Regions from separate parts of the Homo sapiens genome. Here all the other regions are linked to region 6. Evidence: promoter capture Hi-C in 16 types of primary human blood cells and fetal thymus (Javierre and others, 2016). All regions are on one chromosome and are shown on one strand. Each heading gives the region's core, a stretch centred on a gene start or on the middle of the fragment in contact. The rest is flanking DNA. Distances are from core to core; before and after follow the strand shown. Region 1 overlaps RRAGD (Ras related GTP binding D). Region 2 overlaps MDN1 (midasin AAA ATPase 1). Region 3 overlaps TENT5A (terminal nucleotidyltransferase 5A). Region 4 overlaps MDN1 (midasin AAA ATPase 1). Region 5 overlaps MAP3K7 (mitogen-activated protein kinase kinase kinase 7). Region 6 holds the start of SYNCRIP (synaptotagmin binding cytoplasmic RNA interacting protein). Region 7 has its middle 2.4 kb from the start of UBE2J1.

Region 1 (3,296 bases), core at 409-2,908, 3.7 Mb after region 6:
TACTATAACATATTCAGGATATGTAACTATTTGTTGGAGATTTTCTTTTACCCAACAAATTAGTAAACCATACCCTATTACTAACAAAAGTCCCTAGCCATATCAGTAAGCTAGGGACTTCTGTTAGTAACTTTTGTTTAGATATTATAGAAGGGGGAAATTAGTTTAATTGCTTTTGTTTCAAAATAAAACTGAATTTGATCCTAAAAAAAATTTGGTGGAGTTAAATATATTCATGGTCTTCCCTTTCCGGAATCATGATGCCATCCCTGTGTTCTGAAGATTTAAGAAGTATTTTGAGGCTGAACAGAAGTCAAACCACCTGTTGTCCCCTCCTTTACATGGGAAGAACAAAAGATCACACGGTTACCTAAGACCTTCTAGAGGTGTGGAGCAAAGTGGAGACCTCCACCCTCAGTATAGGCTGGGAGTCTGCTCCCTGGTAAGAGACTTCATTCACAGCCTGGCAACAGTGCCCCAACTAGCTTCCCCCTAGCAGAGATGCCAAGGCCCCTGGGAGGATCATGGGGTTCCACTTCCACCTCGCTGCAATCGCAGATGCACCACTAGAGGGCAGGCCAGTTCACTGGCCCAGAAGCTGACACTGGGGGCAGGAGCCCGCCCCGCTCTGAACTCCAAGCCAAGAGGGCCTGTGACTGGCATCTGGAAGTTTCGAGGGCTATGCTGTTGTCCACCCACATTCAACAAACAATACATGCAGTAGCAGTCTGATGCTTCTTTTAATGCTTCTTTTAAATCACACCAAAAAGTTACCTTTTCTTTCAAAGCTTTCCTCTCTGACAAAGCAAACGAGAGCCAGGAACTTTGTCACCTCTTTTAAATAAAGCACGGTTGTATTATTAAGCTTTATGATGGCTGTGGATTCCTTGTCATAGGGGGTTCCTGCTCCATCTTCTTTGAGACTAAATGGGGACAGAAACCAAAACATGTGACCATTGAGAAAGAACTAGAAACTGTAAGCCAGTGACAAGAGACCGGCTTTAAGCCACAAAAAGTGATAATCATAAGTTGTTTACACTTGCAGTGCCTTTCAGCAAAAGAGCTCAGAAACACACAGGCACAAAAACATACACAGTCCTCAACAGTCATTTCCTACTGACAATGAGTGGCTGTCTGCAGCAGCTGGGACACTCTCCAGGCACCTGAAGAAGCCAGTTGAAGGATGAGGTTAGCTCTCCCCACCTCCGTGGCCAAGGGCTTCTTGTTTTCTCACCTAGAATAGCCAGGCTGTCAAAAGCGTGGTCTGATGAAAGACTAAGAAAGGCTGAAGATATGTTCCAAATTCAAGGAGTCTAAAGAGACCTGAAAGCCAAGTGCTAGACTGGATCCTGAATTGGGAAAAACTGCTATAAAAGATAGAATTGGGACCACTGGTAAAATCTGAATATCGTCTATATATTAGATAATAATGTAGCCATGCTAAATTTGCTGAACTGTGAACTGGTTCAATTTACTCTCAAATGGTTCACTGAAAAGAAATAGATACACAATATGTATTAGAAAAAGAGAGATGCAGCAAATATGGCAAATTGGTAAAAACTGATGAATCCCAGTGAAGAGTTATACAGGAGTTCATTTTACTACCCTTGTATATTTTCTGTAGGTTTTAACTTTTTTTCAAAATAAAGAGTTAAATAAGATATATAGGTCTATTTGGCCAGGCGCAGTGGCTCACGCCTGTAATCCTAGCACTTGGGAGACAGGTAGATCACGAGGTCATGAGTTCAAGACCAGCCTGGCCAATATGGGTGAAACCCCATCTCTACTAAAAATACAAAAATTAGACAGGCACCACGTGGTGGCGCACACCTGTAGTCCCAGCTACTCGGGAGGCTGAGGCAGAAGAATCCCTTGAACCCAGGAGGCAGACGTTGCCGTGAGCCGAGATTGTGCCACTGTACTCTAGCCTGGGTGACAGAGCAGGACTCCGTCTCAAAAAAAAAAAAAAAAAAAGATATATAGGTCTATTTAAGAAAAGGTGTGGTGTGCAGACACAAGTGACTTGGGTTTGAATCTCATTTCTTTTATTTGCTAGCTATGTGAGCTTGGACAAGTCGAATAACTTCTTTGAGCCTCAATTTCCTCATATGTACACTAACAGTAATTATTTCAAAGTTTTCTAATGAAGATTAAATGAAATAATGCATATGTAGCACTAAGCATAATGCTGAGAACATAAAATACACACTTATTATCATGGCTTTAATGACTGAAACTGGACCCTCTGAAGATACCTGTGTAATAAAAGTGTTATGAATCCTTTCCTCACAGGCAAAGGACACTTCCCTAAACCTTTTCCCCCTTACCTAAAACTGTACATAAATTTTCTGATTTATTTTTACTCCCCAAATTTATGAATAACTGACCAGAAATTTGACTTAATTGGAATTGTGTTAAACCTTACCACATTCACTGAGAACTAGCATTTATTAAAGCTTACTATGTGATATTAACCATTCTTAGTTCTTAAAATGCATTATCCTCTGTCTGCTATAAGAATCCTCTAAGTTTCTAAGGAAACTGAGGCTAGGGGAAAATAAGATAACTTGGTCAAAGCTGACGATAGGGGTAAAGTCAGGACCTCAAACCTAGATATGGCTAATTTCAAAGTTAATGCTTTAATCCTGTAAATACACAAGGGGGTACAGTATCAAGCCAGATTTAATGAAAAGCCTGAATTGCACAAGAGTATTTTTAGGAAATGTAGGTTTTTAGTTTTGAGAGTATTTTAAGCTGCCATATACATGGCCACTTAAAAGTAAATTGTGAGGGTGGGCACGGTGGCTCAGGCCTATAATCCCAGCACTTTGGGAGGCCGAGGTGGATCGCCTGAGGTTGGGAGTTCGAGAACAGCCTGACCAACATGGAGAAACTCCGTCTCTACTAAAAATACAAAATTAGCTAGGCGTGGTAGTGCATGCCTGTAATCCCAGCTACTCGGGAGGCTGAGGGAGGAGAATCACTTGAACCCGGGAGGCGGGGGTTGCAGTGAGCCGAGATCATGCCATTGCACTCCAGCCTGGGCAACAAGAGCGAAACTCCATCTCAAAAAAAAAAAAAGTAAATTGTGGAAGTTCGTATTTTTTGTTTTTTTTAAAGGATTCAACTCACTATAACCTACCAAAACATTAAAGAAAAACCTTTTAAGTGCTGGACATCAAATGTTAAAGATGCTTTAACAGAATTCATTAACTTCCATTGCACTGTTTTAACTACTATATTTTAAGGCTCAATCTCTCTTGCTTATAAGTAATGTTCTGAGAACAAGAAACTGA
Region 2 (3,065 bases), core at 508-3,007, 4.2 Mb after region 6:
CCTAAGATTTAAAAAAAAAAAAAAAAAAATTAGCCAGACGCGGTGGCATGCCTATAGTTCCAGCTACTGGAGGGGATGGGGAGGGTCCTAAAGTAAGATGATCAGTTGAACCTAGGATGTCAAGGCTACTGCTCTCCAGATCCTGTCTTAAAAAATAAAAAAGAAAGCATAAACCAAAAATAAAATTCTAAGCCCCCCCAACCAACTGAATGAAGGTGAATCCTTCTCCATTCAGTCAAGTGCATTCTAAAGTAAACCTGAAACACTAGTTCAGGCCATGCTGGGAATGGGTGGTCAGACACGCCTCATTATACTCTCTTCCCTTCAGAATTCTGGCACAGCTAACCAGCATTAACATTAAAACAGAGACCTTAGGACTGACAAAACAGATTACTAGTAGCAATAAGATACAAATATGACAGACAGCAAACCCTGAAAGAAGTATTTCAGGTGTTCTTTAATCCCCCTCCTTTTTTTTTTTTTTTTGGTAGAGACAGAGTCTCTCTGCTATGTTGCCCAAGCTGGTCTCAAACTCCTGGGTCCAAACAATCCTCCTCCCTCAGCCTCCAACAGTGCTGTGATGACAGGCATGAACCACCACATCTGGCCCAAAATATATAGCTTTGACAAATTTTGAAATGGCCCTGCAAAGTTGTCTCTTTAAGTCTTATAAGAAACATTTAACATTTACAGTGCTCGGCTTCAGGCACATGTTGGGGGTGTTGAGGTCTAGTGGGCAGAGTAGACTCTTGGCCAGACAGATGGTTTCTCAGTGGCAGGATGCGAGGGCCTCCATGCACCGGAGATCTCTCCAGCACCAGGAGCAGCCGCTGGACAGCAAGGAGCGGCAGCCTATGGTTAGCCATTGGGAGATCTCCGCCAGGGCCCTGGGTTCTCTGTGCAGACAGTTCCAAAGAAGGCTGCCCCTAAGAGCCGTCAACCTCAACCTCCGGACAGGTACCTCCTAGAAACCCCTAGAAACCAGGGTCAGGGCAGTAAGAGACTCCAGGCTGCAGCTCGCTCAGCTAAGAGCACCCTGGGTGCCATGTCACAGAGAATCCAGGAGTCCTGCCAAAGTAGCACCAAGTGTCTGGTGGAGACCCAGGTGAAGGCCAGGAGGAGGAAGAAAGGGGTACAAAAGGGAGAGCAGTGTCTCCCCAACTCACAGCCTGAGCCAGAAGAGGATTCAGCTGTATGGAGCTGCCCCTGACCACTCAGCTACAGACCCCTGTGCATCACCACCTCTCTACCTGGACAGGCTCACGTGCCTACCCTCTACGGCAGTGGAGGCGGGAGACTGCCTTCCAGAGCCCCTACTCCTTGACAGAGCTCCTCTGCTCTCCCAGCGCATCTGATAGTGACCTAGCACCTATGGGGAGCAGGAATTCGGCATCTCCAGAAGCTGTCCCAAGAGCTGGATGAAGCCATTATGGCGGAAGAGAGTGGTGAAATGACACTCTCATTCATGACTGAGGAAGTGCCCTGCAGGAAACAAGCCCTGTCTGACCACCAAGGCTTCGTACCCCAGAATGTCTGTGCTTCCCCATGAGCTTCCTGGCGGAAGCTCCCAGGAGTCATCAGTACCCCTGGGCCACTGCTAACAAAGACCTGACTAGCAAGGAGCCCAGAGCCCCCCTGCTCCAGCCACATCTGGACCCATCAGTGACTGCCTGCCACAGCCTGAGAGTGTCTTGGGGAGATCTTGCAGAGGTGGGGAGAATTGTTCCTTCTACTCCCCAAGGGGACTCTTGGGTTTAGTAATGCATCGTATACTTGACCTTGAGCCTGGTATTTGCTTCATCTACAATGTGAAGAGCTGGCATCAGATGTTTGAGAGCTCTGAACTCAAACCAGGTGCTTGGTTTTTGGGGAGTCATCCACAGAGTCACTCGCCCACTGTGTTTCCAGTGCCAAGGCCCTTGGGGGCACCACTCTCATCCCTGCTTTCCCTACCAGGGACCTGGAGGAAGGCATAGGAGATAGTTCCAGGCTTAAACCCTGGGCTCACAGGTACCTATTTATATGTTCAAGGCAGAGCACTGTGGGTGTGCCAGGAGGGGTAGCCCTGTTCAAGAGCAATTTCTGCCCTTTGTAAATTATTTAAGAAAACTGCTTTTATTTTATTAGAAAGAAACCAGATAGCATTGCTTTCTTATAATAAAGACTAGATAACACTGCTTTCTCATAATAAAGACTGTTTTGTGGCTGGGCGCAGCGGCTCACACCTGTAATCCCAGGACTTTGGGAGGCCGACGCGGGTGGATCACCTGAGGTCAGGAGTTCGAGACCAGCCTGGCTAACATGGTGAAACCCCGTCTCTACTAAAAATACAAAAATTAGCCAGGCGCAGTGGCAGGTGCCTGTAATCCCGGCTACTCGAGAGGCTGAGGCAGGAGAACTGCTTGAACCCAGGGGGCAGAGGTTGCAGTGAGTTGAGATCGCGCCGCTGCAGTCCAGCCTGGGTGACAGAGCAAGACTCCATCTCCGTCTAGGGGCGGGGGTGAGGAGACTGCATTTGGGGGAAAAAAAAAAATCATTTACAGGCTAGGCTTATAATCCCAGCACTTTGGGAGGCTGAGGTAGGTGGATCACTTGAGCCTAGGAGTTCTAGACCAGCCTGGACAACAAAGCAAGATCCTATCTCTTTAAAAAATAATAAAAATTTTAAAAAAAGAAACATTTGCAATCTGTTCTCTCTGAAACCTGTTACCTGGAGGCTTCATTTGCATAATATGAACCTTGGTCTCCACACCCCTATCTTTTTTTTTTTTTTTTTTTGAGACAGAGTCTCGCTCTGTCACCCACGCTGGAGTGCAGTGGTGCGATCTCAGCTCACTGCAAGTTCCACCTCCCGGGTTCACGCCATTCTCCTGCCTCAGCCACCTGAGTAGCTGGGACTACAGGTGCCCGCCACCATGCCCAGCTAATTTTTCATATTTTTAGTAAAGACAGGGTTTCACCATGTTAGCCAGAATGATGTCGATCTCCTGAGCTTGTGATCCACCCGCCTCAGCCTCCCAAAGTGCTGGGATTACAGGCGCGTGCCACTGTGCCCAGCCTCCACA
Region 3 (3,270 bases), core at 353-2,852, 3.9 Mb before region 6:
CCCAAGGTGCAGCTTGCTGCAACAGAACACCTCAAAGCAGGCATGATTGTAGAGAGGTTGGAGGGAGAGACAGCCAGCAGGCAGAGCCTCCTCCGTTCTGCAAGGCTTTGCAGCAAGTCTCGTTAACTTGACATCTTCCAACTTTGTACTTTACCATTTGCTTTGTTAGAAAGCCATTATTTTAACAAAATATAACATAGAGATTCTTTCTTAGCACTGAAAATGCTATGCTAAAAGAAATTTTAAAGAAAGATTATATTCAAATAGATGCTATATATGAAATTACTTTTTTTGGCTTTTTGGTTTCACCTAACACACTTCATCTTCAACAACAACAAAAAAGCTTATTTTTGAACTGACAGCTTTCAACATAATACATTTCATTTACAAAATAGTTCACAATATTTATTTAACAAGCGTTGCATTGAAAACAACTTTATGCACAGTGAAGCAACCAACAATAAGCAAACAGAAAGGGGTGGTAAAAACAGTACGTTCACTTTTCATTTCCTTCCTTGGTTTGGATTACACATATTCTTCCATCCTTGCATTTTTGGAGCTACATTATTAGTCCATCCAATACCAAAGTGAGCAGATACTTGATCCCATTTCTGGAAAGGAAATGTCCATCTTGGTGTAGGAGTTCTTGAGGCAGCTGGATTTACTGCAAATTAAGTAAACCTTTAAAAACGGCATTGTCACAGGCTATGTGTTCTCTGACATGCCAGGCTGGACAGGTGAGAAGAGCCTCCAAAAGACAAAACTTCTTCCTGGTTTAAAGAAACAGCACACTAGGCCAGATAAACACAAAAGGAAACAAATCACAGGCGCTAATAGGGAGTCGGGAGCTGTTCTTTTCTCTGACCTATACACATGGCTCTCTCTCACCAGACATTCAAATTTTTAGGCCGCACATCCACAAAGAGAGACATATATTTCACTGTGTGTTCAACTACATATGCACAAGACTATAGTACACACAAAATAGAAATAAATTATATAAGTCTTAAAGTAAATGCTAGAAGTTGTCTTGAGTACAGCCTGTTCTATATGAATAGGTGCCAGGTGCTGGCACTTCCAACTAAGCTACCAACCCTGAAGTAAGCAAGAAAAGAATATAAATATTTAAGAAAATAAATCAAAGTGTATTTCAAATAAGGCTCTTCCAAACAAAAATCTGTGTTATAAATTAACAGCAGGTTATTGTTATGGCAGAGTCAGAGACCTCCAGACTCTTTAAAATAGTAGACGACTCATTTGTCAAGAGTTAGGGTAAGAAAGCAGATCACCAGCTGCTCCTGTGTTCACAAGTGCTCCCCTAGTTTTCTTTCAGAAAACTTTGAAACAACTAAGCAGGCGGAGCTCTGGTTTCTGATAGGTGAGTGCCAGGCTTAATCTGCAAACTGAACAATGTTTCCTGGGAAGTTGCAATTAATTTTTCAAACCCAGGGCTTAAGTGAGGGAGACTGAGCCAAGATGGTAGTAGGAGGAGTTCCTTAGAAAACTGAGTGGCAGTGCAGCGGCTGTTGCAGCTCTGACAGAATTCACAAGGAAGCTGCTACAGCAAACCCATCAGGTTCCCATTAAGGCTTCAAAGAAAGATGCACAAAAGGTAGTCCAGACGGATTAACCTGGATTAACCTAGCACTAAGCATCTGAGGATCCCTAGATAAACAAACAAACAAATTATACTGCCAACAGGAGGATATTTTTTTCTCCCGTGGTCTCTCTTTAACTGATGATGAAAATCTTCTAATTGGGTCTTCGAGGAATTATCATAGCAAGCAGTCATCCACTAAGGTTGTGGAGATTATGTGGTTGTTTCACAACACAAAGGGAAGGTTCTTATGTGTTAGTTTTGTTTTGTTTTTAACAAATGCATTTTCAGAGACCAGTATCTAGAGGAACTACTGGCTAGGAGAAAGGGTGGTTTTAGGATTAGCTGTTATTGAACTGAAATAGTAATGCCAGTTCATTTCACAAAGGTATAACTGGTATTTTTGTAAGAAAGAAAATAAAGTTGGATTTGATTTAATGGAAAGCGATTTAAAGTACAGTACTAAATATTTAAATGCAGTGTGACAACCAGATCAAAGATGTTTCATATTGACATGATTTATAAAATGTTATATATAATATATATCTCATATATAAATTTTAAGCAATTGTGCAAATATTCTGTAAAAAGGGTCATTTCACATTACTAAATTCTAGTGGTCCAGAAATGCAGAATGCATTCATTAAAATTCATTTAAACATTAGCAAGTAGTGTTTAGATCACCGGAAATCCTTTTTAGCAGTCAGGGATTTAAGTAGCCTATTACTGATCCATGATCCACTAGATTAAACATCATAGAGGAATGCAATTTTTTTTTTAATAAATGGGTTCCAACTGTCAAAATGGCAGTTCAATATAAAAAAGAGTGCTCTGCCAAACAAATATTCTCCCATTTGTGGAATTTTATGGCTCACCAAAGAAAAAAAAAAAAAGAAAAAAAAATCCCACTAAAACAGTATAATTTCTGCTCTTCCTATGAAATATATTACTTGGTTCCCTCCTTCATTTAATTTTTTTAGATGTGGATTTAATTCATCATTGCAATATGCCCACGTCTCATGTTATCCTGTTGAAAACATAAAAACACACAGTATTTAAACATTTCCTATTTGAGACATTATTCTAGATCATAGTCAATCTACTGTGTATATATACATATAAAATGTATATATAAAATGTATATATACACACACACATATAATTTATACACACATACACATGTACCTATGATAATATCAGATCAACAAATGTTAACTTTATACAAGTATTTGCAAGAAAAAATAGGGCATTTTCTCCACCATTCACAAGCTTATGTTATTTTCTTCTTGAGGCAGTCCCTGATAAAATAAAATAATCATTAAACCATAAAATAATTTTGCCACTTCAAATTTTCAGAAGGCAACAGGCACTTTGATGTATATTGGTGTGTAACAAATATAATCTCTCTTCATATAGTCTACTATATCTCTTCTAATTGGGTATTTTTATCTGTTAAATCTTTGGTCCTTGAGCACACTTTCTTTGTTACAGCTGTTTTTGCTTGCATTTTTACATTTTAAAAATGTGATCTATGCACGCAGCTGGAATTAATGGATTGTGTCATCATAAGTTCTGCTGATTGTTACGAGAACTGCACCAACCTACTACTGTTCATTTGGAGCAAGCCGTTTGTTAGCAAAACAAGATCATTCCACAGAAAGCACTTGCTACAA
Region 4 (3,263 bases), core at 118-2,617, 4.0 Mb after region 6:
AAATGCTGAATTTTCAATCCACTTTTGGTTGGAAAAACTCCATGTGTAAGTAGACCTGATCTGTACAGACAAACCTGTGGTATTCAAGGGTTAATTGTAGCCTTTATATTTAATTCCACACACACCTTGCTCCTTTCTCTTATAAATCTGAACTCAAGTAAGTATATACTAGTTAGTGTCTAGATCCCCCATTGATTATAAGCCTCATGAGTACAGGTTCAACAAAAATTTCTGAATGAATGAATAAATAAGTAAAAATCAGCTCCATCAATTTATGTCTTTTCCTGTGGAGCATACCTATTAAAACACAGTGACGGGGACACTGAGCTGAAGCAAGCAGCTTGGGAATATAGAGTACAAGAAAGCATTTTGTTAATGAAGAGGAAGGCATGCAGCTCACCTGAACTGATGTTCTGCGAGAGCTGCTGAGCAGCTGCAAACATGTTGGCAACAGACTCTAGAAACTAAACCGGAACCAGGAATAGACAATTAGAAAACTATGTGAATGCTCTTCTCATTGTCAAAGAGACTGATAGTATTTCTGACATTGAAGTGATTATCAGATAACCACCTCAGGTTTACAGACCATCAACTAACTGTCCCTTCTGGCCGTATGTAGTTAAAAAAGGAGGATCCTTGGATACAGACATTCTGTTTTTTAATTATTATTTTTTGAGAGAGGGTCTCACTGTGTCACCCAGGCTGGAGTGTAGTGGCACGATCTCATCTCACTGCAGCCTCGATTCCTGGGCTCTGCCTCAGCCTGCCGCCAAGTAACTAGCACTACAGGTATGTGCCACCACACCTGGATAATTATTTTTGTCTTTTGTAGAAATGAGGTCTCACTATGTTGACAAGGCTGGTTTTGAACACCTGGCCTCAAGCGGTCCTCACACCTCAACCTCCCAAAGTGCTGGGATTACAAGTGTGAGCCACCATGCCTAGATGATACAGGCATTCTCAAGCACAGGTGAGACGTTTCTCTAACATATAACCCACTAGAGTTCTGGAAGATACCCCAAAGGAAAAGAAGTGCTTCCCTGGGGCATAAGAAATCAATACTCCCTCAAATAAACCAAACAGCTGTCTTCTTTCAAGAACAGAAAACAACTGAGCAAAAGAGAAGGCAAGAAAATACAAAATGTCCAGGGCAGCCTAGAAAAAGCAAACTGAATCAGAGCAGGACCCAGGAGAAATATGATCCCATGCTGTTTTGAACTTTTGTTCTCTTAAGTAAGTCACTGGCTTTACTTCATATCATTTCTTCTCTAAGCTTAATGAGGGAGAAAAATAGGTCTTGGCCCAGCTGATAAGGGTATGGGAGATGGGTTTGTTTTTGCAGAATGTTCCAAACTACTCGGAAAAAAAAGTAGGGAGCTAGAAAACCAATGATGCAAAGTCAAGTGATCCTTGAGGAACTGAGAAAAAGAAGTCACACCTTGTTTTATAATGGATGCTAAGGAAGCTTCTATTCCAGTGGTACACAGGCTGAGGTTTGGGACTATCCCTGTCCTAATACTGTATGCGGTGGAGGGTGGTTCTCAGCCCAGCATGGTGGTAATCCCAACACTTCGGGAGGCCAAGAAGGGAGGATCACTTGAACCCAGGAATTTTAGACCAGCCTGGGCAACAAAGTGAGACCCTGTCCCTACAAAAAATAAAAATTAGCCAGACATGGTAGCATGCGCCTGTAGTCCTAGCTACTAGGGAGGCTGAGGCAGGAGGACTGCTTGAGCCCGGGAGTTCGAAGCTATAGTGAGCTATGATGGCGCCATTGTACTCTAGCCTGGGTGACAGAACAAGGTCCTGTCTCAAAAATAAAAATGTTCTCCCTCCAACCTACACCAGTTTAAAAATAACTGTGCAGAAGACATTTTATTTCATCCTCTTACCTGAGCAATCTTGGTTTTCTTTTGTTGGAATTTGCAGAGACGTAGAATCTGGGACCCAGAGTAATCACTGAACTGCTCATGAAATGGGTGTAACAGCTTTACAGATTCTCCAAAACTTGGGGGAGGAAAACCAAATACAACAGGAGTTATTTTTTGGCTGTGTGATCAAAATAACCAAACAGGTTGTGAAAAGTTTTCATAAAGGAATTACAAAGCAACCTTACCTACACACTGCAATCTGACCCACTTCCAGGAGGGTTAGAGCATTTCCAATCACAGCCAAAGATTCAAATGCAAGCTGTGAATTAGAAAGTTAATGATTTTAGGAATCAGAATATCCTCTAAACCAGAGCCTCTCAACTATTTTTTGCATCAAGATTCCCAAAGAAAACATTTTTTTGTTTGGCAAGTAGAGGAATAACATCAGTAAGGCTACTATAGTCACAACAAACCCAAAGGCTTTGGTGGCCTGGTACCACAAATGTTGAAACCTAGAATCCATTACACTGATAGGAATGGTCTGCTGTAGACATCGAATAAAAAGTGACCTTGAGGGCCAGGCGTGGTAGCTCACACCTGTAATCCCAGCACTTTGGGAGGCCAAGGAGGGAGGATCACTTGAGTCCAGGAATTCAAGAGTAGCCCAGGCAACACAGCAAGACCCCACATCTGTGGTCCCAGCTACTTGGGAGGCTGAGGTAGGAGGATCACCTGAGCCCAGGAAAGTTGAGGCTACAGTGAGCCACCTGGGCAACAGAGTGAAACCCTGTAACCCTGTCTTCAAAAAAAAAAAAAAAAACAATTTAGCCGGGCATGGTGACACACACCTATGGTCCCAGCTACTCAGGAGGCTGAAGTGGGAGGACTGTACTGCTTAAGCCCAGAAGGTTGAGGCCACAGTGAGCTATGATCATGCCACTGCACTCCAGCCTAAGCAACAGAGCAAGACCCTGTCTTTAAAAAAAAAAAAAAAAAGAAAGAAAGTGACCTTGAGAAATATGGTCCATGAATTTTTCTTTCTTCTTTTTTGGACCTACATGAAGAGTAACCTCTTGTAGGTAAAAAATTTTAAAAACCAATTTAAAATCCATTCATATATATGTAGTCAGATCAGACTGTAGAACTATATCAGAAAATTTCATTACCATTTGCAATATGACAAAAGCAGCAGCAAACTGAGTGTTCTACATCTATTATTTCATTTAATCTTCATAACAATTCTGCAAGTATGAGGTTATTACTATTCTATGTGTGCTTGTAAATATATATATTCCTCACTTTTCAGAAGGTGAAACTGATAACTAAGAAATAAGTTGCCCAAAGTCATGTGTTAATAAATGGAGCTGGGATATGAACCCAGGTTCAGAGGCT
Region 5 (3,297 bases), core at 602-3,101, 4.9 Mb after region 6:
AATAGTGCTCAGGTGTCCTTGAAAAGCATCTCTGCTTCCAGTTGTTTAAGCATTCTATAAAGCCCTCCCCACCTAGATAATTTATTTGCCAATACCTGACATTTGAAACTTCTGAAGGAGGGCAACAAGATACAAGTATTAGAAGCCTAACTACTCATCTATTTTTCAGTTAAAATGTTTGGGCCTCTCTACATTCTACTTACTCCAATTTACTACTTATCATACTGTTAGTAAAAAACCAATATACAATAGAGCTAAACGTCCTTGACTGAAATTAAAAGCGAATACGCGTTTTTTATTCAGTTAAGAGATCTAAATGCGGCTGAAATCATAAGGACACCTAAGGTTTCTTTTTAGCTTTAAGAATGATATAACAAACAATAAATATCAATTAAGTTCAGGTTCTTCAGGAAACTAGGCAAAAATCTTATCTATTTCAGTAAGATCTGACTCAAAAACATTTGTATATTCAATCTTCTTTTGCATATCCTTAAGAACAGTATGTAAGACAGAAAATCCTCTTTGGTCAAGGCATTTTATTGCTCTCGAATGTTATGCCATATTATTTTAGGCTTAGAAATAACAAAAGGTACACTAAAGCAACACTGTTCAAGGTTCTCAAATTGAAGCACTTCAAGGCAATGTTCATCTATAGAATGGATGGTTTTCAAGTACTTGAAATCAAGCATTATAATCTAATCTGAACTAAGAAATAAATTTATCTATGATGATATAATAGCATTAAAAATGTCTGTAATTTAGAAAATTTTACTTTTGCATATCACATTTGGGAAACTCATTTCACTTTATAAAAGCAATCAAGCCGGTATGAACCATGTACAACAAATTTTATATCAGAGTAGAAGTGCAGAAGACTAATGTTTAATTAAATCTTTTATAGGTGGTAAGTATATATGTATATGACAGTATTTTTTTCCAGTAGATTTTAGAATGCATTATAATTACAGTTTATTTCCTTAAATGCTATAACTACTCACACAAAGGCTCCAGAGCAGAACAACCCATCTTCCATTACTGATGCTACAAGCATGAAAAATAATTCGCTTTCTTAACTACTTATTCTCTTACTCTACATGTTAAACTGAAAAAGGTTGTTCCTCTTTTTTTGTAATATTTAGGCATTCTACCTGTTCCTCTTTGACATTTGGATTTTTAAAAGAAATGTAAAATTTAGGTATTCTTCTAACATCAGATGAACTGCATTAGAATGTCTTACATAGTTTCACAATCCCAATAATCTATTTCATTTGTGTACTTGAGATGAAGGTGGGTGAAAAATAGATTCTTGGAAGCTTAGATAGTGACAAAAAGAAAATATGGGAAAAAGTAAAGAAAATCCATGCAAAACAATGATCTGTGTTCTTACTGCCCTTATTAAAGTCCTAGAACAAAAAAAATCTAGAAAAACTTCAAAGAATCCAATAATCTGCTACCTATTCCCTTTTCTTCAAATATAAATGTAACAAATTAGATGTACTGGCTGAAAGGAGAAAGGATATGGTTTTTAAAACTCAAGTTTTAATAAAAAACATTTAAGAAAATCTATTTCTTTTCTCGAAGTCCCTTCCAACTTACCAGCAAGCAAATGCATTAGAAAACTGTAGTTCATATGGTCTAAATACTGGGCAAGAAACTTCCACATTTACATTTACTTTGCTTAGGTAGCACACTGCTACTTGGCAGGACCTTCTCTACAAAGGAAGAGTCAGCAAAATGTCACACACTCTACTGGTAATTTGCTCTTAGCTGCGTGTCTTCCTTGGTAAAAAGGAGCCAGGCTAATCTATAAAGCTCACTCTTTTAAGGGCAGATGGACAGTGGAAAGAAGGAAGGGTTACCGTACAAAAGTTTGTCAGTTCTTCAGAGCCAGTAATATGGTAGAAGAGGTATAAAAAATTGTACAGTCTGACCCACAGGGAGTCCTAAGGTATTAAAGGTTAATTTCTGTATGATCTGAGAGACTACTAAATTGATAAATAGTGCTGTTTTGCTAAGTTGCTTTTTCTTCCACATTTGACTGATGGCATAGTATACACATTTTGAAGAGCGAGCAAAAAACAAGATTACAAGATTAGGGTCTTTGCATTTCTTTACCTATGACTAGGTTAGACATTTTAGTGACTTTAAAGATATATATACAAAACCTTTTTTGTGATGCTTGAAGGATTGCTCTTATTAAGAGAGGTAGTTCATTCCAAGAAGTACATTAGACTCAGTACATTGCACTTGGCCAAAGGGAAGTATTAACGAAACTCTTATCCATGTAAATAAGATCTTTAAAAAGCTATATTTAAAAAGAATCCTTGCAATTGGGTTTTAATGCTAATTAAACAGTTTGAATATATCAAGAAGTATTTGCTAATACCATAAAGCTTGTGGGAAATCCACTTAGAACAAAACAATTTCTAGAAAGTATTAAGAAATTTTGGAAATTAAGTATCACCCTTCTTTACAATTAAAATGTCATGTAGGAAATTTGAGATATTCCCAAAGGATGGGCGGTATTTTTATATTTAATTTAAAAACATTACCTATGAGCACATTCATGATTGGCTTTTATGTCCACTAGTGTCAATTCTACAGCTTGTATTCTTCTATTAAAGAAAGTGCACCTGAGTAAGTTAATGTTTGATATCTGAGGGGGGAAAAGCCTAAAAAGAATATTTAATAAAAGGTATTACTGAATAATATTTTCATATGAATAGCACTGCTGCTCTGGCAATTAAGAGAATTAAGGTTACCTGATTCCATAAAGGCCCAATGTCATAAAAGAGGATCTCCCTGGCTGAAGAGCTCTCCTTAATGTGAACACTAAGAGAAAGCAAGAAGAAATTACTCTAGCTTCTCTGACTTAAACAAAAGAACAAAAAATGGATGTGACTTGGAGTCAGAAGATCTGGGTTGGGGTCCTGGCTATATGATTCTGGAAAAACCACTAAACATCATCAGATCTAAGTTCTTCGTCTGTTAAACAGCTATAATTTCATCCGATAACCTAGTTGTAAGATTGTATAAAGGTAAAATAAGATGTACTTTAAGCTACTTTGTAGGGCACAAAGAACATCTAATCAGGGGTTTTCAGCCTCAGCACTGCTGCCATTTTGGGCTGGATCATTCTTTGTTGGAGAAGACTGCCTGGTACACATCAGGATGTTTAGCAGCATCCCTGGTCTCTGCCCACTAGATGCCAGTAGTACCTGACAGTTATAAACTATTATTCTTTCCTTATTTTTCCCTCCCCCATTATCTTGTATAGCGTGGGCTACGCTGCCATAT
Region 6 (2,975 bases), core at 297-2,796:
CAGCATCAAGCAATGTCTGAAAATTTTCTGAATGGATAACTGCAGAAGTAGTATCCATGGGCTCTTCAGTACCATTTCCATTAACATGTTCTGTAGCCATGTTTCCAGAGATCTGTTCAAACGCAATAAGCAAAATTAAACTAGGATCTTCAAAAAGAATACAAGACAATATGAGAGCCCCATCTTTACTTTCTCTACCATTTACTACACCAGCTAGCCTATACCTCCCTTTAAAAAAGCCTTACAGTCACTATCGCCTGACAAGCCAGATTTGGAGCACAGGGCACAGAAGGACCGATTCACCATATTCTTCCTCAGCACCACCCCTGACTCACCTGCTAACACTCCCTAGGAAAAACCATATTACAAATAGAGCCCAATCAGCACGGGTACGAGCCAGCGTGCCACATGCAGCTGTGCCCGTTCGGAAAATGAGGTGTGTGTGGAGAAAGCAAAACTGGGCTCCTCTCTCTCAAAGATAAACCCCCAAAGTGCGCGCTTTTCCCGCCTGCCGCTTATAGATCGGTAACAACAGCCAGCGAAGAACAAAGCGCTCATACAAGCCACCTTCCCACCACCCAATTTCTCCACCCTTTAACCCCGCACCCCAAAGCCCGCCCCTGACTCCGCACCCAGAGCGGCAGTCTCACCACTGCGGCCGCCAGGAGCCCATTAGAAACACGTGCTCTGCGCCTTCCAATGTCCTACAACTTCCTTCAACGGCAACCCAACGAATCCCAAACCAAGACGACCATCACTGGTTCCCAACATCAACCCGAAGCCGCGGTCGGAGCCCCCAGAAAGCTGCAGCAGCACAATCTCTCCCCTGAACACCGAGGCACCGGCGGCGCCAGGCCACAGGCTCTCCCCGCCCCCCAGCGCCGCCGTCTCCGCCGTGACACATGGCTCTCCGCCCCTGGCGCTCCCCGGGCGCCGACGACCCCCGGCCGCCCGCCCGGCCGAGACGTGACCCGTGGCGCGCTGTGCAGGTCCCCACCCCTTACCCTTCCGTGCAGTGACTGCGACGCCTGCCCGGCAACCCAGCAGCGTGAGGGCGTTCAGCGGACGGCTCAACGCCCGCGGGACCGTGAGCACCGCCCAAGCTCGCCGCACGGCTGCAGGACAAGACCCACTCCTCTCCGCCCACTCCCGCGCCGCGGCGACCGCCACGACAGCACCAACTCTGAAGCCGCTCGCGGTCCGTGCGGGCCACGGGACCGTGGAGGCGCCTCCTCCCAAAGCGCCGCAGACAAAGCCCGAACCGCAGCAGCACATGGAAAGGAGGAAGTGGCGGCGCGGGCCGCGGCCTACTCCCAGGCAGCCCCAGTCAACGTGCTCTTCTCCCCATTGGAATCCATTTTCCAGAAAAGCCGGTTTCTACCCGCGCCACCCTCCCCCAGCTCACTCCACAATGTCATGGAGCTCCCCTCCCACACCCAGGTTCTGGCAGTCGTTACCTCCCCGTTGGGCTGAGGCGGAGAAATCCTGTCCGATGGTATCGGGTTGCGGGAAACGCGTGCTCGCTGCTCCCTGTGTCCGGCGCGAGTGGAGCTGTTGTAAAATGGCGGCCGAAGCTCACGCCGCTGGCAGCAAACCCGATCCAGTTCCACTCGCCTCCGAGCGCGCTCCCGGTGCGCGCGCGCGCCCCCGCGTGACCCCCCCTTCCCTTCCCTTCCCTTCCCTCCCCTCCCTCGCGCGTCCGCTTCACTCACTCCCTCAGCCCCTGCCCTCCTCCAGCTCCTCCTTCTCCCCCTACCACCACCACCACCACTAGCCTCTGTCCGCCTTCTCTCGGCCTTTCTTATTCCCGCCCCCCGCTCCTTTACCCCACTGCTCCCACTCCCCTCTGCGGTCGCTCAGGCACGAGTGGCCGCCTTTCCCCTTCTGGCTCGCACGCTCCCTCACTCCCTCCCTCGCTCGCTCGCACTCTCGGCCCGGTCCCCCAGTCCCTGCCGAGTCGGCTCCTCTCTTTCTCTCTCCCGCGCTGACGTGACAACGTAGCCTACGCCTCGGGACGCGCGCCCGCGGGCTCCGCCCCCACGCCGCGCCGCCTTCCCCGCTCCTCACCCCTTGGGTTGGGGGTGGGGGAGGCACAAGACCCCGCCCTTCCGCTCCGACGGTGGCGGCCGAGGGGCCGAGACTGAATGAAAGGCCCGCCCCTTCCCCTCCCGACACTCCCCCTCCCTCTCCCCTCCAGGCGGGGCGGGCCGGCTCAGCGTGTCCCACTCGTTTTCCTTTGTCAGGAGACTGGCATCTCCCCACCCCGCCCCACCCCACCCCCTCCCCGCGACACCATGCGCACGCCACCCCCACCGAGCTCCCGCCCGCCCCATCCCTGCCCGGTCCGGGGCTGGCGGGGCAGAGTGCTGTGGGCGCTGAGTGCGACTGCCGCTTCCCGGAGGGCACCCACCGGTCTGTGCGCGCCCGGCCCCCGCCCCCGGCTCCGCGGCCGCGTAGCCGTTCCAGGCGGTGTCCACGCCGCTGCCACCGCCCCGCGCTCTCCTCCTCGGGAAGCTGCAGGCGCACGTGTCCCCCGGGGCGGGGCGAGGCAGACAATGGGGCCAAGGGGGAGGGGAGCGGCGCGGAGACCCGCGGACCTTTGGTCCGCCGGACTGGCGGTACTCGAGTGCGAGAGTCGCCCTTGGAGACTCGATCTCCCCAACTGGACAGTGGGCCCTCCTCGCAGCCGCGCGGCTCCGCTTTCACGGGAACCTTCGGCGAAGGGAGGGGCGCCCCAGGCTTGGACGCGGAAACCCCGGCTGCTTTTGAAGGGGGAACGGGGCTGGCTCCAGTGGAGCGAGGAGCGGCTCCTGCCTTGGGATGACACGAAGGCCAGATTTGGAAGCGAAACCGCCCGGTGGTGAAGGGTTGTGCAATACTCCGTTTCAGTCCCTGGCCTTTTAAGCAGTTAAGGGCTTCCTCCTGGCACAGTTTGAGCAACTTGAAACAGCACAAAGCTGCGTGGTTAGAACAAC
Region 7 (2,948 bases), core at 315-2,814, 3.7 Mb after region 6:
TAGGCATTGCAGGAGTTTTGTTTTTTTTGGTTTGTTTAGATGTAAAAGCTGTCAAAAAAAGGAATTACATTTAATGTGAGGGAAAGCATACAAATATGAAAGGTTAAACTTCAAAGGACACACTTACTGCTTCATTGTCCAATGTGTGGGATCGAGAGAGGACTGAGTTCAAAAGACTTAAGGAGTAGGGACCTTACTAAAGGAAAGGAGGGAGGGATTGGGAAGGTGGGGAGGATAGAAAGGGTTAATCAGGTTGGGCAAGTTTTATTCTGTTATATAAAGACATAAACTCTTAAATTTGATTTGTTTTCTATTGTTAAAGTTAATCTAAATCTGTGAGTTTCTTGATGAAATTGGGAGTAAAAAAGTGAAGGATATCTAAAATTAGATGGTATATTTTAAATCATTCCCTGATGTTGTTTTCTGTATAGTAAACTGATAATCTGACTGACTGAGATATGCAAACAAAACCAAACTCCAATGCTGCTTCATTCATTCATTGTGTTGAATCTTCAGATTAACTGACACTTGACACCCTCTCCTGCCACAGCTCTACAAAAGCCCCTAATTTGTGCAGTAGGCCCTACCACAGCAAGGCCTGCAAAGCAGGTGCTGTATATAATGCGTTCCTATTTGATAGCTGAGTACTAGAAGCCTTTTGCTATTCAGCCTCCAAGGTCCATCAATCTCTGGGTGCAGTTGTCCTCTGGGGCTCTCCTTTAGCCACCACCACCTCCACTGCTCCCTGGGGCTCTTCTCCCATAGGACTGGTTCAGTAGGAATAACAATCTCTCCTTCCTTGGTTAACAACAATAACAACAATTTATTGTGGACATGTGCCCATAACAATTTAATTATGGGCACATATCAAAGCTTAATTACAATCATGCTCCAAGATCAAAGCCAATTCCAAAATTTCTCTCAGCAGAGACATTTACAGAGAAAAGAGAAGTGGCTGGCAGGTGTGGTGGCTCATGCCTGTAATCCCAGCACTTTGGGAGGCCAAGGCGGGCAGGTCACCTGAGGTCAGGAGTTGGAGACCAGCCTGGCCAACATGGCAAAAACCTGTCTCTACTAAAAATACAAAAATTAGCTGGGTGTGGTGGTGCATGCCTGTAATCCCAGCTTCTCGGGAGGCTGAGGTAGGAGAATCACTTGAACCCAGAAGGCGGAGGTTGCAGTGAGCCGAGATCAACCTGGGAGACAGAATGAGACTCCATCTCAAAAAAAAAAAAAAAAAAAAAAGGCCAAGGTGGGCAGATCACTTGAGCTCAGGAATTCGAGATCAGCCTGAGCAACATGGTGACACCCATCTCTACTAAAAATATACACACACTCAAAAATTAGCCGGGCATACGTACCTGTGGTCCCAGCTACTCTGGAGGCTGAGAAGGGAGGATCAGTTGAGCTCTGGGGGATGGAAGAGGAGGAGCAGGCTGCAGTGAGTCATGATGGTGCCACTGCACTCCAGCCTGGGTGATAGAGCGAGACCCTGTCTCAAAAAGACAGATACAAAGAGAAGAGTAATTTTATTTAAAGGTTACTAAATTCTTGACTGACAGCTGGGTGGGAAGGGAGCTCATTTCCTTGGAAAATTTCTTATCCAAAAATTGCTTATTTTTTTAAACTAGAACACTTATTTCTTTCAAGAAAAATTTACAAATTATATCAGGTAAAGTTTTAATCCAAGATCAAATTTGGGGTAATTTTTTCTTTACTTTTGATGATCCTAAGGAAAACTCCTTTTTTTTTTCATTTTAAGATTTTTTTTTTTAATCCTTAAAGCCGACTTCGTAACTAATAAAAATGACAAAAGATGAGGTTTAAAATGTTTCAGAATCTTAGAAAACATCTTAGAACCACAATCCTTGACCTGTGTAATTCATCTTTTCCTTAGTTAGGAACCAGAAGTCCTTTGAAGTGCAGGCCCTTTCTCCACCGCCATTTGCATCCTTGTGCAAGGTCTGGACTATAGTTTTTTAGCATCTACTGTTTATCAGGCACTTGACATAACATCAACTCATTTATTCTTCATAACAGCCTTGGAAGTGGCACTGATTATTTATACCCATTTTACAGATGAAGATAATTTAGGTCTCAGAGAAATCAAGTGTCTACTTCTCAGTTTTTTCAACTACAGATTATTATCTTTCTGGCATATGATTTTTTATGTTAATGAGAGGAAATTTTTCTAGATTTTCATCTATTTCTTGATTTGGTTTGAATACTTTGAAATATATTTTATAAAGGTTCTTAAAGCTTCAATGACTTATTCAAAAAAAACTTCAGTGACTTATCTAGAAAATGAAAGAACCCTGATTCAAGTCCAGGTCTTCTGACTCTGAAACTTGGGTTTTTTTGCTACACTAAAAAGAATCAGGCTGTTTTGTGACATTTGAGTTTTCCACTATTTGAAAAAAGTATATGCTTCTTACAACCTCCGAGCTATTCTTGGTTCACACATTTTACTTATTCTTTAGCACTAGAAACTTTTTTTTAAATGATTTTCTTCTTGATCATAAAAGTAATACAGTGGTTCAATATGTGGAATATGAACAAAATCCAAATCTCCCATAATCCTCCTGCTTAGAAAAGGACATGATACAGATTTTGGTATATTTACCTTGAGGTTTTGTTTATAAGGCATAGATATTTTAAGAACTGATATCCCATTATACCACATATACTTTTCTATACTTAAAATATCTGCCATTAGCTAACTGGATTACTTGTTTTGCCAGTTGCATTGTTATTATCACTTAAACTGATAGTGTGAATCAGCTTATTTTACATCAATGTCTTCCTAGAGTAAAATTTAAAAAAAAAAAAACCTCAGAAAGCCATATATAAATTTTATTGCATCGCTTCTCAGTCTTTTGGCTAAGATCAAGTGTAGACTTTATTGTAAACATTTTGTTAATTACCTTGAATACTTTATAATTTTTTTT

Evidence for each region. Contacts are between HindIII fragments. The CHiCAGO score rates a contact against its expected background, and 5 or more counts as called.
Region 1: a contact is called between a fragment that was not itself captured here and the fragment with the promoter of SYNCRIP in region 6, in 1 of 17 cell types (fetal thymus). The highest score is 6.2, in fetal thymus.
Region 2: a fragment that was not itself captured here is called in contact with the fragment with the promoter of SYNCRIP in region 6 in 1 of 17 cell types (monocytes); the score reaches 7.2 in monocytes.
Region 3: a fragment that was not itself captured here is called in contact with the fragment with the promoter of SYNCRIP in region 6 in 1 of 17 cell types (total B cells); the score reaches 7.1 in total B cells.
Region 4: a fragment that was not itself captured here is called in contact with the fragment with the promoter of SYNCRIP in region 6 in 1 of 17 cell types (total CD8 T cells); the score reaches 5.4 in total CD8 T cells.
Region 5: a contact is called between a fragment that was not itself captured here and the fragment with the promoter of SYNCRIP in region 6, in 1 of 17 cell types (monocytes). The highest score is 7.0, in monocytes.
Region 7: a fragment that was not itself captured here is called in contact with the fragment with the promoter of SYNCRIP in region 6 in 1 of 17 cell types (monocytes); the score reaches 7.4 in monocytes.

What each region holds. Positions count from the first base shown.
Region 1 is chr6:89,371,663-89,374,958 of GRCh38, forward strand. RRAGD (Ras related GTP binding D) reads right to left here. Exons shown (of 7, transcript NM_021244.5): 6 at 775-923. Among named protein-coding and RNA genes, the nearest start is that of UBE2J1, 21 kb to the left of the region's middle. RefSeq lists enhancers at 428-722, 632-851, 1,222-1,341. The HindIII fragment of the contact is 1,591 bases long and covers 864-2,454 here.
Region 2 is chr6:89,813,915-89,816,979 of GRCh38, forward strand. The region is part of intron 1 of MDN1 (midasin AAA ATPase 1); the gene reads right to left. It also overlaps the pseudogene PIMREGP3. Among named protein-coding and RNA genes, the nearest start is that of MDN1, 4.3 kb to the right of the region's middle. The HindIII fragment of the contact is 7,549 bases long and covers 1-3,065 here.
Region 3 is chr6:81,745,910-81,749,179 of GRCh38, forward strand. TENT5A (terminal nucleotidyltransferase 5A) reads right to left here. Exons shown (of 3, transcript NM_017633.3): 3 at 1-3,270. Among named protein-coding and RNA genes, the nearest start is that of TENT5A, 5.1 kb to the right of the region's middle. The HindIII fragment of the contact is 2,523 bases long and covers 342-2,864 here.
Region 4 is chr6:89,646,140-89,649,402 of GRCh38, forward strand. MDN1 (midasin AAA ATPase 1) reads right to left here. Exons shown (of 102, transcript NM_014611.3): 98 at 2,117-2,190; 99 at 1,893-2,007; 100 at 401-464. All of the region lies in intron 1 of MDN1-AS1 (MDN1 antisense RNA 1), which reads left to right. Among named protein-coding and RNA genes, the nearest start is that of LYRM2, 9.0 kb to the left of the region's middle. The HindIII fragment of the contact is 192 bases long and covers 1,272-1,463 here.
Region 5 is chr6:90,539,698-90,542,994 of GRCh38, forward strand. The region is part of intron 12 of MAP3K7 (mitogen-activated protein kinase kinase kinase 7); the gene reads right to left. Among named protein-coding and RNA genes, the nearest start is that of MAP3K7, 46 kb to the right of the region's middle. RefSeq lists a silencer at 1,639-1,839. The HindIII fragment of the contact is 1,080 bases long and covers 1,312-2,391 here.
Region 6 is chr6:85,641,340-85,644,314 of GRCh38, forward strand. SYNCRIP (synaptotagmin binding cytoplasmic RNA interacting protein) reads right to left here and starts at 1,547. Exons shown (of 11, transcript NM_006372.5): 1 at 1,458-1,547; 2 at 1-112. The coding sequence starts at 100. RefSeq lists silencers at 597-646, 867-1,016, 1,607-2,626. The HindIII fragment of the contact is 3,992 bases long and covers 1-2,975 here.
Region 7 is chr6:89,353,642-89,356,589 of GRCh38, forward strand. No RefSeq gene overlaps it. Among named protein-coding and RNA genes, the nearest start is that of UBE2J1, 2.4 kb to the left of the region's middle. The HindIII fragment of the contact is 1,386 bases long and covers 872-2,257 here.